Regions from separate parts of the Homo sapiens genome. Here region 1 is linked to region 2. The links are contacts of gene promoters, found by promoter capture Hi-C in human tissues and cell types (Jung and others, 2019). All regions are on one chromosome and are shown on one strand. The core of a region is centred on a gene start or on the middle of the fragment in contact, and the rest is flanking DNA. Distances in the headings are between cores, read along the strand shown. Region 1 holds the start of MAPK3 (mitogen-activated protein kinase 3). Region 2 holds the start of DCTPP1 (dCTP pyrophosphatase 1).

Region 1 (5,899 bases), core at 51-2,550, 310 kb after region 2:
GCTGAACTCCATAGTGTTTTCTCTGAGTCACTATATTCTCCCGCAGTTGCAAAATGATCTGGCAAAAGTCCCTCTAGGGTTTTTACTGCTTACTGAGTAACATCCAAACTCCTTGCCAGAATCCAGAGCCTTCCTAATCTGGCCCCAACCTACCTCTCCAGGCTGAAACCTCATCATTTTTTTACTGCAGCCATGCTGGACAAGTTATGCTTCTGCCTTTATGCCTCAGCTCACCCCGATCCTTCTCCTTCATGCCTTTCTTCAGTCCCTACCTTCTGCAACCCTACTTTTTCTCTTCTTCTTTTTGTTTTTTGTTTTTGAGACGGAGTGTTGCTCTGTCGCCCAGGCTGGAGTGAAGTGGTGCAATCTCAGCTCACTGCAACCTCCTCCTCTCGGGTTCAAGCGATTCTCCTGCCTCAGTCTCCCAAGTAGCTTGGATTACAGGCACGTGCCACCATGCCCAGCTAATTTTTGTATTTTTAGTAGAGACGGGGTTTCACCATGTTGGTCAGGCTGGTCTCAAACTCAGGTGATCTGCCCACCTCGGCCTCCCAAAGTGCTGGGATTACAGGCGTGAGCCACCGTGCCCAGCCCCCCAATTTTTTTTTTTAATTAGCAGGGCGTGGTGGCGCGCACTCGTAGTCCCAGCTCTTTGGGAGGCTGAGGTGGGAGGATCACTTGACCCCAGGGAGGTTGAGGCTGCAGTGAGCAATTATTGCACCACTACACTCCAGCCTGGACGACAGAGAGAGACCCTGTCTCTATAATAAAATAAAAACAGTCTAGGACTCTGAGAGGCATGGAATTAGAAAGAGTCTCTGTGTCAGAAGACACCATTTTGAGTCTCAGCTGTCACTACTAGTGACCTTACCCAAGTTAGTAAACCTAACTCTCAGATTCTCCATCTGTAAAATTTGATCCATTTATTAGAACATTATTTTTAACCTAGGGTGATCCCGGGCCCAGGTTCTGGTGGGCTGCCGCATACATTGGCTGGGTGGCTCTGGTAGGTCACGCCCTGGCCGCTTCGCCATCGAGGGGAGGGTGAGGACAGTCTCCGAGGCGGCGCTGCCGAACCTCCCGGTGACCTGGAGGCCGCGGAGCCCGCAGGGACCCATGGCCCCCGAACCTGGGGCAAGAAGGGCGGGCGCGCGCGGGGCGGGTCACGTGACAGCTCCAGGCCCACGCGGGGCCGGGGCAAGGGCGGGGCCTGGCGCGCGCGGCCCTGCGGGTGACAGGCAGGCGGGAAGGGGCGGGGCCTCGGGCGGGGCCGCCGTGGGGAGGAGGGCGGTGGGAGGGGAGGAGTGGAGATGGCGGCGGCGGCGGCTCAGGGGGGCGGGGGCGGGGAGCCCCGTAGAACCGAGGGGGTCGGCCCGGGGGTCCCGGGGGAGGTGGAGATGGTGAAGGGGCAGCCGTTCGACGTGGGCCCGCGCTACACGCAGTTGCAGTACATCGGCGAGGGCGCGTACGGCATGGTCAGGTGAGGGGGCGTTCCGGGGGAGGGGGTGCCCTCAGGGGAGGGGGCTTCGCGGGAGAGGAGGAGGAGGCGCCGAGCGCTTTCCGGGACGTGGAGACGCGGAGCGTCCCGAGGAGGCAGGAGACTCGGGATGATCGGGAGCGTCCCAGGGAGGGGGCCCCTGAGTGCTTTCTGGGGGAGGGGGCGCTGCCTACGTCCTCAGGGGAGCAGGCTTGGAGGCTTTGAGTCCACCCTTCTGTAATGATGGGAGGGGCATCCGAGTGCATGTGGGGGCCCGCGGGGACCCTAGTGACACGGGGCGAGGCCCAGAGGATGAGTACTCTCGGGGAGGCGACATCCTTAGTGAAGAGGCAGTGGAGGGCCCGTTTTGGGGGAAAGGGTGTCTTGGATTCCCCCTGTGAGGCAGTGCCAGGGAGCCTGGGGGAGAAGAGCCGAGATCAGGGTGGGGCAGGGCTTTGGCCCCACCACCCCAGGGGCCCAGAGAGAGATGAGGCGGCCAGGAGTGCCACCTGCATGTTTTGGGAGGGGTCTGTGAGTGCCCCCGGCCCCACCGTGTGCTCTGGGCCTCTATCCCTCTGGGACAGCCCCGCTGCCCGGATCCCTCACCCTGGGACCCTCCCCTGCCCTGTCCATTCTCTCCTGCCCCTCCCCTGGCTGCCACCTTCCCAGTATTTGCCCCATGGTGTGTCCCCAGCATCTGCACCCCCGGACCTGTCTTGGGTTAAGGAGCCTTTCCTGGGAATGGGGGCGAAGGGTTCAGGGCCAGTAGAATGGAAGGGGATTGAGGAGAGGGGAAGTCAGTGAGCGGTCAGTCTCTTCCTCTGTTTGTAAAGTCACCGAAGGGCCGCCTGGCTGGTCCCCAGCTTTCTCTCTGGAGATCCCAGGCCTCCACAGCAGGAAGGAACCAGCATTGTTTATGATTTGACCAGAGCCAGCTCCTGCTCTCTCCCCTCCCTGCCAAGGCCTGGGTGGGGCCACCAGGCCCGGACTCCCCCTTTGTAAGGCCACAGCAGCAGCCTCTCTCCGGTCCCCTCAGCTCGGCCTATGACCACGTGCGCAAGACTCGCGTGGCCATCAAGAAGATCAGCCCCTTCGAACATCAGACCTACTGCCAGCGCACGCTCCGGGAGATCCAGATCCTGCTGCGCTTCCGCCATGAGAATGTCATCGGCATCCGAGACATTCTGCGGGCGTCCACCCTGGAAGCCATGAGAGATGTGTATCCTTCACCTTGGCCAGTCGGCTGGTCAGGCACGGCCTCGCAGCTGGGCTGGGGACCCGTTGCTTGGTTTCTGTTTCCATCTTACCCACCACCCTCCAAAACAAACCCAGTAAAATAAACTTTCCTGCAGAGGGGAAGCCACAGTGTAACAGGACTTGGAGACCTCTGATGAACCCAGGCCTGCAGCGGCCCAGGCAGTATGGCCTCGAGCAAGTGGGTTCTCTGCTCTGTGCCCCAGGGGGAAGGGCTAGGCAGGATGGTCTCTATGGGAGTGGTGTCTTCTGACGTCGGCAGTTCTGAGACATGACCTGGCCTCTGCCCACAGTCACTTCTTGCTAAGGAATGGATGATTCTTTCCTCTCTTTCCTCCTTGCCCAGACCGGAAGGGAGACAGGGAGAAAGAAAACTGTCAGCTGGGCGTGGTGGCTCACGCCTGTAATCCCAGCACTTTGGGAGGCTGAGGTGGGAGATTACCTGAGGTCAGTAGTTGGAGACCAGCCTGGCCAACATGGTTAAACCCCATCTCTACTAAAAATACAAAAAAATTAGCGGGGCATGGTGGTGCAAGCCTGTAATCCCAGCTACTTGGGAGGCAGAGGTAGGAGAATCGCTTGAACCCAGGAGCTGGAGGTTGCAGTGAGCCAAGATCGTGCCACTGCACTCCAGCCTGGGTGACAGAGCGAGACTCTGTCTCAAAACTAAACAAAAACAAAAAACTGCCTTTCTTGAGGGCCTGCTGTGTGTCAGGTACTATACATGCCCAATGCTTTTTTTTTTCTATTACACCTCCCAACTACCCTATGAGATGGGCTTTTCAGCTTCATTTCAAAGATGAGGGGTGGAGTGCAATGGCTCACATCTGTAGTCCCAACACTTTGGGAGGCTAAGACCAGAGGATCACTGGAGGCCAGGAGTTCAAGACCAGCCTGGGCAGCATAGTGAGACCCCACCTCTACAAAAAATTTAAAAATTATCCAGGTTTGGTGGTACACGACTATAGTCCCAGCTACTTGGGAGGCTGAGGCAGGAGGATGGCTTGAGCTTAGGAGTTCGAGGCTGCAGTGAGCTATGATTGTGCTACTGCACTCTAGCCTGGGGGACAGAGCGTGACCCTGTCAAAAAAAAAAAAAAAAAAAAAGATGAGGAAGCTAAGGCTCAGAAAACCTAAAATCAAGTGTTTCTGTTGCTGTCTCCTCCTCTCCTCCCCCAGATGGGAACTTGTCCTTCTTCTTAGGACTTCTCACTCAGAGCCACACCCTAATCACCTGTGGACTTGCACCTTGCCCAGGGAGGGACAGCCTAGCCTTGGCTGTCCTCCCCCAATACTGCTTTCCTAGTTTGCTGTCCACTTCCTGTCTGGCTCTCCTTAGCAACTTATGACACCTGTCACTTCTTCCCTGCCCCACCCACCCACTCTCAGTCCCAGCCCTCCACCCAAGAGTGGGGATTTGTACTGAGGTGTCTGCAACCCCCACCACAAACTGTGGACAGGAAATCTCCGTGCTCACCCCCAGCTCGCTGTGTGATCTGAAGCAAGTCACTGCGTCTCGCTGGGCCTCCCCAGCCCTAAAACAGCAGGGCTGGTCCACATATTCTCTGAAGACCCTTTCAAGGCTGATTCTTGTTTTCTTTGTTTTTTGTTTGTTTGTTTTTAGATGGAGTCTCCCTCTGTTGCCCAGGCTAGAGTGCAGTGGCTCAATCTCAGCTCACGGCAACCTCCACCTCCCAGGTTCAAGCTATTCTCCTGCCTCAGCCTTCCAAGTAGCTGGGACTACAGGCGCCTGCCACCACGCCCGGCTAATTTTTGTATTTTCAGTAGATGCGGGGTTTCGCCCTGTTCACCAGGCTGGCGTCAAACTCCTGACCTCAGGTCATCAACCCACCTTGGCCTCCTGAAGAGCTGGGATTACAGGCATGAGCCACCATGCCTGGTCTCAAGGCAGATTCTAAAAGACAGCCCTGACTTATTTTTCTAGAGACAAGCCAAACAGCATTTGTGGATTTATTTATTTATTTACGCATAAGCTTTTTTGTATCTTCAAATAGAAAAAGACATTTTACTCCTCCATCTTCTGAGGTATGGCCAAGCACTCTCCTTTGAGTGGGAGTGTGCTGTTGGGAGTGTCTCCTCATTTTTCTTGCACAAACCATTCCCATAAGGCAGGCATTTATTTTTAAGCAAACATTTATTGCATGCCAGATGGTGTTCATACATTATCTCATTTAACTCCCTCAACAGCCATGTGACTCAGGCATTCATATTAGTAATAATAGTTCATGTTTGCCTAGCACTCACAACTTGCCAAGCACTGGGCTGACAGCTTTACATGCGCCATCTCATCTAGTCTTCACAACCACCCTCAAAAGAACCATTATTTCATGGCTTGCACCTGTAATTTCCAGCACTTTGGGAGGCCGAGGTGGAAGGAACACTTGAACCCATGAGTTCAAGACCTGCCTGGGCAACAGAGCAAGAGCCCATCTCCACAAAAAGAAAACAAACAAACAAACAAAAAAACATTATTTCCCCTACATACCAGATGAGAAAGTTGAGGCACAGACAGGTTGAGATCCTAAAGCCAGTGAGTAGTAGAGAGGAGATTTCAGACATCCATGGGTTAACTCCAGAGTTGCTGCTCTTTTTGTAGGTTTTTTTTTTTTTTTAATTTATTTATTTTTGAGACAGAGTCTCACTCTGTCATCCGGGCTGCAGTGCAGTGACACAATCTTGGCTCACTGCAACATCTGCCTCCTGGGTTCAAGTGATTCTCGTGCTGCAGCCTCCTGAGTAGCTGGGATTACAGGCACATGCCGCCGTGCCCAGTTAATTTTGCTATTTTTAGTAGAGACAGGGTTTTGCCATGTTGCCCAGGCTGGTGGTCTCAAACTCCTGGCCTCAAGCAGTCCTCCCGCCTCAGCCTCCCAAAGTGCTGGGATTACAGGTGTGAGCCACCACTCCTGGCCCAAGTTGCTGCTCTTAACTGTGAAGTTCTCCTGCCTCCCACAGTTTATTATTATCCCCGTTTCCCCGGTAGGGAAACTGAGGCCTCAGAAATGAAGCCCCTTGCTCAGGATCAGCAACTGTGATGCAACAGAGGCTCAGAGCCCTGCCGCTGGGTAATGGCAGCAGCTTCCCCAGCTGGTGGTGCAGGTTGGCAGATCTATTGAGTCCCAGGGGCCCTGGCTGGAGGAGGTGTGCA
Region 2 (6,277 bases), core at 541-3,040:
GGCTGAAGCACAGTGGCGCGATCTCGGCTCACTGCAAGCTCCACCTCCCAGGTTCACACCATTCTCCTGCCTCAGCCTCCTGAGTAGCTGGGACTACAGGTGCCCGCCACCACACCCAGCTAATTTTTTGTATTTTTAGTACAGACGGGGTTTCACCGTGTTAGCCAGGATGGTCTCGATCTCCTGACCTCGTGATCCGCCCGCCTCGGCCTCCCAAAGTGCTGGCATTACAGGCGTGAGCCACCGCGCCCGGCCTCAGTTTCCTTATCTTTAAAATGGGGATGACAACAATATTACCTACCATATAGGGTTTTTGTGAGGATTAAATTAGTTGCTATGAGGATTAAATATGTAAAATGCTTAAAACAGCCACCCCAGTTCCAGTTCATTCCTGAGGTCCCACTGTATTCTGGAGACACTCTTGTATCCTTACAATAAATTCCTTGTGGCCGGTGGGGGTGGCTCGTGCCTGTAATCCCAGCACTTCGGGAGGCCAAGGCAGGAGGATTGCTAGAGCCCAATCCAGCAATCCTGGTTCAAGACCAGCTTAGGCAACATGGTGAAACCCTGTCTCTATAAAAAATTTAAAAAATAAAAATAATAGATTTCTTTTTCTTGCTAAAAGCAGTTTAAACTTGTTTCTGTTGCATGTATCCAATCTTAACTGCTGGATAATATCATTTGTATAAATATACTTCCATGTAGCCATTCTTCCGTTGATAGTCATTTTATTTTCAATTTTTTTCACTCTTAGAAACAAAACTGTAATGAACTTCTTGCATGTGTCTCTCTGCACATATTCATTAATTTCTCTAGGGCATATACCTAGAATTGCAATTGTCACAGCCTTGGGATTTTAATTTCCAAAATCTGACTCTGCCTCTTCCTGCGCTTTCTTACGCTTTCACTTCCAGCAAGCTGGAAGCCTCTTTAAACGTGGAAATCAGAGATAGTAGCCCTAATAAGGGTACAATAATAAATCATTCTTTGCAAGACTACACCTGTTCTAGGGTTTCATAAAGATCTCTGCTCCTCCCATGGCCAATAACTCAGTGGTTCTGATTTGAAAGCAGCAACCCTGTGACTCGCCACCTCGCGTATTCCCTGGTGTGAGTGGAGCCTGGAGTTCTCGTGTGTGGGGTGGAGGAGCCGTGCTGGGGACCCATGAGGCTGGAGAGGCCGGCACAGGCCAGACCATAAGGGGCCACGTGTTTCAGGGCAATGTACGTTGCGCTGGGGCCTACTGCCTCCCTTAGGACAGGGATGGGGCGACCTCCATCGTTTCAACCACAGGACACAGCGATGGCGGGGAGCTGAAGTCCTACTGCCGTCTGATCTTACTCCGCTCTTCCCCTTCAATCCCATCCAAATAGTGTGGGGGTTGGCCTCGAGGTTTCTCAACGTCCTTAAGCCCTGATTTAATACCTATGCATAGGGCCTTTCATTTATAGGGTTTTCCACCTGACGGGCCCTCTTCCGCTGCCGTTTCGCTTTGGCGCCCTCTGGCGCCCATAAACGAAGTGACGCGCCTGCGCTTCCCCCACCCTCTGCCCTTCGTCTCTTCCCCAGGTCGAATTGGTACCTCTACCTTTAGACACAGGGCCTAGCGGAAGAATTCCAGGGCCTAAGACTAGAAACGCGCGCTTGAAGCTCCCTCAGATTGGTCCAGTGAGGGAAGGGGAGGGCTGTAGCAAACTCCACAAAAGTCATTGGTCTCTTTCCTCAGGCTCCGCCCCGTGAGGCAATAGAGAACTCCCGTAATTGGTCGGAGCTCTGGAGGCGGGGCTTCGAGCGTGGCTCGTGGGTTTTCCGTGAAGTCGCGGTGCAGCGGTGGGCGGCATGTCTGTGGCCGGTGGGGAGATTCGTGGGGACACGGGGGGAGAGGACACTGCTGCTCCCGGCCGGTTCAGCTTCAGCCCGGAGCCCACGCTCGAGGACATGTAAGCAGGCCTGGCCCAGCTCGGGGTGGGGAAGTCGCCCCTTTCTCCCGCGTTTTGGGGAGGGTTCCTCCACGTGGTCGGGAAGCGGGCTGGCAGCGGGGCTCGGGTCCTGGCTCTGTGGGCTGTCCCTGGGTGAGCCTTCTTACCTCATCTGCAAAATGGGCGCAGCGGTGCACACCTGAGGCAAGGGAAATTGGGTGGTGCCTCCGAGTGGTAACTAGGAACGCCCTTCAGCCTAGCCCTGGGAAGATACCGGCACCAGATACCGCCTCTGCTCTCCAGGCGCCGGGGGTACGAGAGGGGCAAACGAAGTGCTGAGAGGTGGGAGACGTTATTTTTTGCTGGAGGAGGTCAAGAAAGGCTTCTTAGAGGAAGGGTCTGTGGAACTACCTTCTGTAAGAGAAATTGCATTTTGATGTGCGGCGATTCCAGGTGGAGGAAACTGCAGAAGTAGCAGCAGGAGATGGAATAATGAAGAGGGTTTTGTTAGTTTTGGCGAGATGTTAAGGGCAGTTCAGGGGCACGCCCATTTTATAGATGAGGGAACCAAGTTCCGGAAAGAGGAAATGACCTGCACAATACCATCCAATGAATTAGTTGCAGAATCTCCTGGTCCCAGGCCCCATTACATACTACGGGGGTAGCTGCCTCTGGCCCCTGCATCACCCTCTAACCCGGAGACTTGGACTTACACTCCTTTGTCCTATTTCAGCCGCCGCCTCCATGCTGAGTTTGCTGCGGAACGAGACTGGGAACAGTTCCATCAGCCTCGGAATCTCCTCCTGGCCTTGGTTGGGGAAGTGGGGGAGCTGGCAGAACTCTTGTGAGTAGATGGAAAGCTTCCTGGTAGAGTCTGAGTTGTGGGGGAGGGGAGGGGAGCATTTATTTGGTCTTCAAACATTCATGGGTTCAGTTTCCCCTCCTGATTGCTAGGCTCTTTGCTGTTGTTGGGATGCAGAGAGGACTCACGGGTCCCTGCCCTCTAGGGGCACTCAGCCTCCTGGAAGAGAGAGGTGTGAGGTGTGAAAGCATCAGGACAGGTCCCGTCTAGGAAGAAGCAGTGGCAACAACCCTTTTCCCTTCTTTTGTTTTTTGTTTTTTTGGCTTTTTTTTGAGACGGGGTCTCGCTCTGTCGCCCAGGCTGGAGTGCAGTGGCTCAATTTCGGCTCACTGCAACATCCGCCTCCTGGGTTTAAGCAGTTCTGTCTCAGCCCCCCGAGTAGCTGGGACTACAGGTGCCCCCCACCACGCCTGGCTAATTTTTGTATTTTTAGTGGAGACGGGGTTTCACCATATTGGTCAGGCTAGTCTCAAATTCCTGACCTCAGGTGATCCACCCGCCTTGGCCTCCCAAAGTGCTGGGATTACAGGGGTGAGCCACCACGCCTGGCCCAACAACCCTTTTCCTCTGCCTCTGGGGCTGAAAGGAAGGTATTCTGTAGAGGACCTGCCTGTGGCATTCCAGACATGGGAACTACATTTGCAGGGGCAGTGAGGCAAGAAAGGGCAAGTTCAATTCAGGGAGAATCTGACGCTCCTTCATTGTAAGCATCTCAGGAAAAATCAGGGATTTGGGATCTGTTTTCTCTGATGTGTCCCAAGTGCCCAGCGCATAGTAGGCGCTCAATAGGCACACGTTGGATGAGTGATAGGGCTGTGGAGGAGAGGGGTGGGAGTTGAACCCACAAAGATATGATTAGGGCTAGAGTATGATGGAGAGTTTGGACAGAAGACCTGACCAGATATGAGTGTTGGAAAGGTCACTGTGTCTACAGGGTGGATTGGATGGATCACTGAGAGAATGGGGCAGGGGACACCAGAGAGTTGGCTGGTGTAGACCAGGCAAGAGGCGATGAGCCCTAGACCAGGACAGTCATTTTTTTAAGAGAAAAGGTCTCACTCTGTTGCTGAGGCTGGAGTGTACTGGTGTGATCATAGCTCACTGAAGCCTCAGGAGCTCAAACGATCCTCCCACCTCAGCCTTCGGAGTAGCTGGGTCTACAGGCGTGCGCCACCACCAAGCCTGGCTAATTTATTTTTACTTTTTGTAGAGATGGGATCTCTCGCTGTTGTTGCCCAGGCTGGTCTCAAACTCCTGGTCTCAAGTGATTCACTTGCCTCACCATCCCGCAGCACTGGGGTTACAGGTTGAACCACTGCACATGGCCTCATGACAGATTTATGAACATCACCTATGTGCTAGGTCTTCTAGAATTGAGATATGGCCTGGAACAAGGCAGAAAGGTTTCCACCTTCACAGTGGAAGGAGATTGACAGTAAATCAGTAATCTCATATTAGAAGATCTGGAATTATGACAAGTTCTATGAGGAAAAGAACACAAGGTGATGACCCAGTCTGGCCAACATGGTGAAACCCTGTCTCTACTAAAAATACAAAAATTAGCCAGGCATGGTGGCGGGCGCCTGTAATCCCAGCTACTCAGGAGGCTGAGGCACAAGAATCGCTTGAACCCAGGAGGCAGAGACTGCAGTTAGCCAAGATCACACCATGGCACTCCAGCCTGGGCGACAGAGCAAGACTCTGCCTTAAAAAAAAAAAACAAAAAAGGGGCTGGGCGGGGTGGCTCACACCTGTAATCCCAGCACTTTGGGAGGCTGAGACGGGCAGATCATGAGGTTAGGAGATCAAGACCATCCTGGCTAACACGGTGAAACCCCGTCTCTACTAAAAATACAAAAAAATTAGCCGGGCGTGGTGGCGGGCGCCTGTAGTCCCAGCTACGCAGGAGGCTGAGGCAGGAGAATGGCGTGAACCCAGGAGGCGGAGCTTGCAGTGAGCCGAGATCGCGCCACTGCACTCTAGCCTGGGCGACAGAGCAAGGCTCCGTCTCAAAAAAAAAAAAAACCCAACGAAAAAGGTCCAGGTGCGGTGGCTCACACCTGTAATCCCAGCACTTTGGGAGGCCGAGGCAGGCAGATCACCTGAGGTCAGGAGTTCAAGACCAGCCTGGCCAACATGGTGAAACCCTGTCTCTACTAAAAAATACAACCATTAGCTGGGCATGGTGGCACACCCCTGTAGTCCCAGCTACTCGTGAGGCTGAGGCAGGAGAATTGCTTGAACCCTGGAGGCAGAGGTTGCAGTAAGCCAAGATTGTGCCACTGCATTCCAGCCAGGGCGACAGAGCAAGACTCCGTCTCAAAAAACAAAACAAAACAAAACAAAAAAGACCAGCCTGGCCAACAGGCTGAAACCCTGTCTCTACTAAAAATACAAAAATTAGCCGGGTGTGGTCACAGGCGCCTATAATCACAGCTACTCAGGAGGCTGAGGCAGGAGAATCGCTTGAATCCGGGAGGCAGAGCTGGCAGTGAGCCAAGATCACGCCATTGCACTCCAGCTTAGGCAACAGCAAGACTCTGTCTCAAAAAAAAAAAAAAACCGGCCAGGTGCTGTGGCTCACACCTGTAATCCCAGCATTTTGGGAGACCAAGGCAGGCGGATCATGAGGTCAGGAGATCGAGACCATCCTGGCTGACACGGTGAAACCCCATCTCTACTAAAAATACAAAAAATTAGCTGGGTGTGGTGGCAGGCGCCTGTAGTCGCAGCTACTCAGGAGGCTGAGGCAGGAGAATGGCGTGAACCTGGGAGGCGGAGCTTGCAGTGAGCCAAGATCGTGCCACTGCACTCCAGCCTGGGCGACAGAGCAAGACTCTGTCAAAAACAAAAACGAACAAACAAAAAACACACAAGGTGACGAGCCAGGAGGTGACATCTAGGCTGAGCCCTGAATAACAGGAAGGAGCTAGCCCTGGGAATGATGGGGGATGGGGAAGCATTCAAGGCAGAGGGAGCAGTGAATGCAAAAGGCCTGTGACAGTCTGGCCTGTGTGCAAGGCAGAACAAGCCAAAGTGGCCTTAGGCGGGGAGTGAGAGTGGGGGGCAGTGGCATTGGAAAAGGCAGGCGTCAGCCCATGCAGGACAGGAGGGCTTTGTCAAGAGTTTAGATTGTATTCCAAGCACAGTTTGTATTTTAGCAGAGAAGGGGAAAAATACAATTTGTGGGGTCTCGTTTTGTTTTGTTTTGTTTAGTTTTTGAGACGGAGTTCTGCTCCTGTTACCAAGGCTGGAGTGTGATGGCGTCATGGCGGGTCACTGCAACCTCCGCCTCCCGGGTTCAAGCGATTCTTCTGCCCTCCTGCCTCAGCCTCCCAAGTAGCTGAGATTACAGGCATGCGCCACTATGCCTAACTAATTCGTATTTTCTGTAGAGATGGGGTTTCACCTTGTTGGCCAGGCTGGTCTCGGACTCCTGACCTCAGGTGATCTACCCACTTCACCCTCCCAAAGTGCTGGGATTACAGGCATGAGC

The links. Contacts are between HindIII fragments. The study calls those that stand out against the background at their distance.
Region 1: a contact is called between the fragment with the promoter of MAPK3 here and the fragment with the promoter of DCTPP1 in region 2, in 1 of the 25 tissues and cell types used here (dorsolateral prefrontal cortex).

The regions. Positions count from the first base shown.
Region 1 is chr16:30,118,621-30,124,519 of GRCh38, reverse strand. It overlaps MAPK3 (mitogen-activated protein kinase 3), which reads left to right and starts at 1,300. Exons shown (of 9, transcript NM_002746.3): 1 at 1,300-1,480; 2 at 2,514-2,696. The coding sequence starts at 1,311. RefSeq lists a silencer at 939-1,308. The HindIII fragment of the contact is 30,345 bases long and covers 1-5,899 here.
Region 2 is chr16:30,425,543-30,431,819 of GRCh38, reverse strand. DCTPP1 (dCTP pyrophosphatase 1) reads left to right here and starts at 1,790. Exons shown (of 3, transcript NM_024096.2): 1 at 1,790-1,940; 2 at 2,653-2,763. The coding sequence starts at 1,840. RefSeq lists enhancers at 1,343-1,452, 1,853-1,932, 2,686-3,186, 3,187-3,687. The HindIII fragment of the contact is 14,232 bases long and covers 1-4,922 here.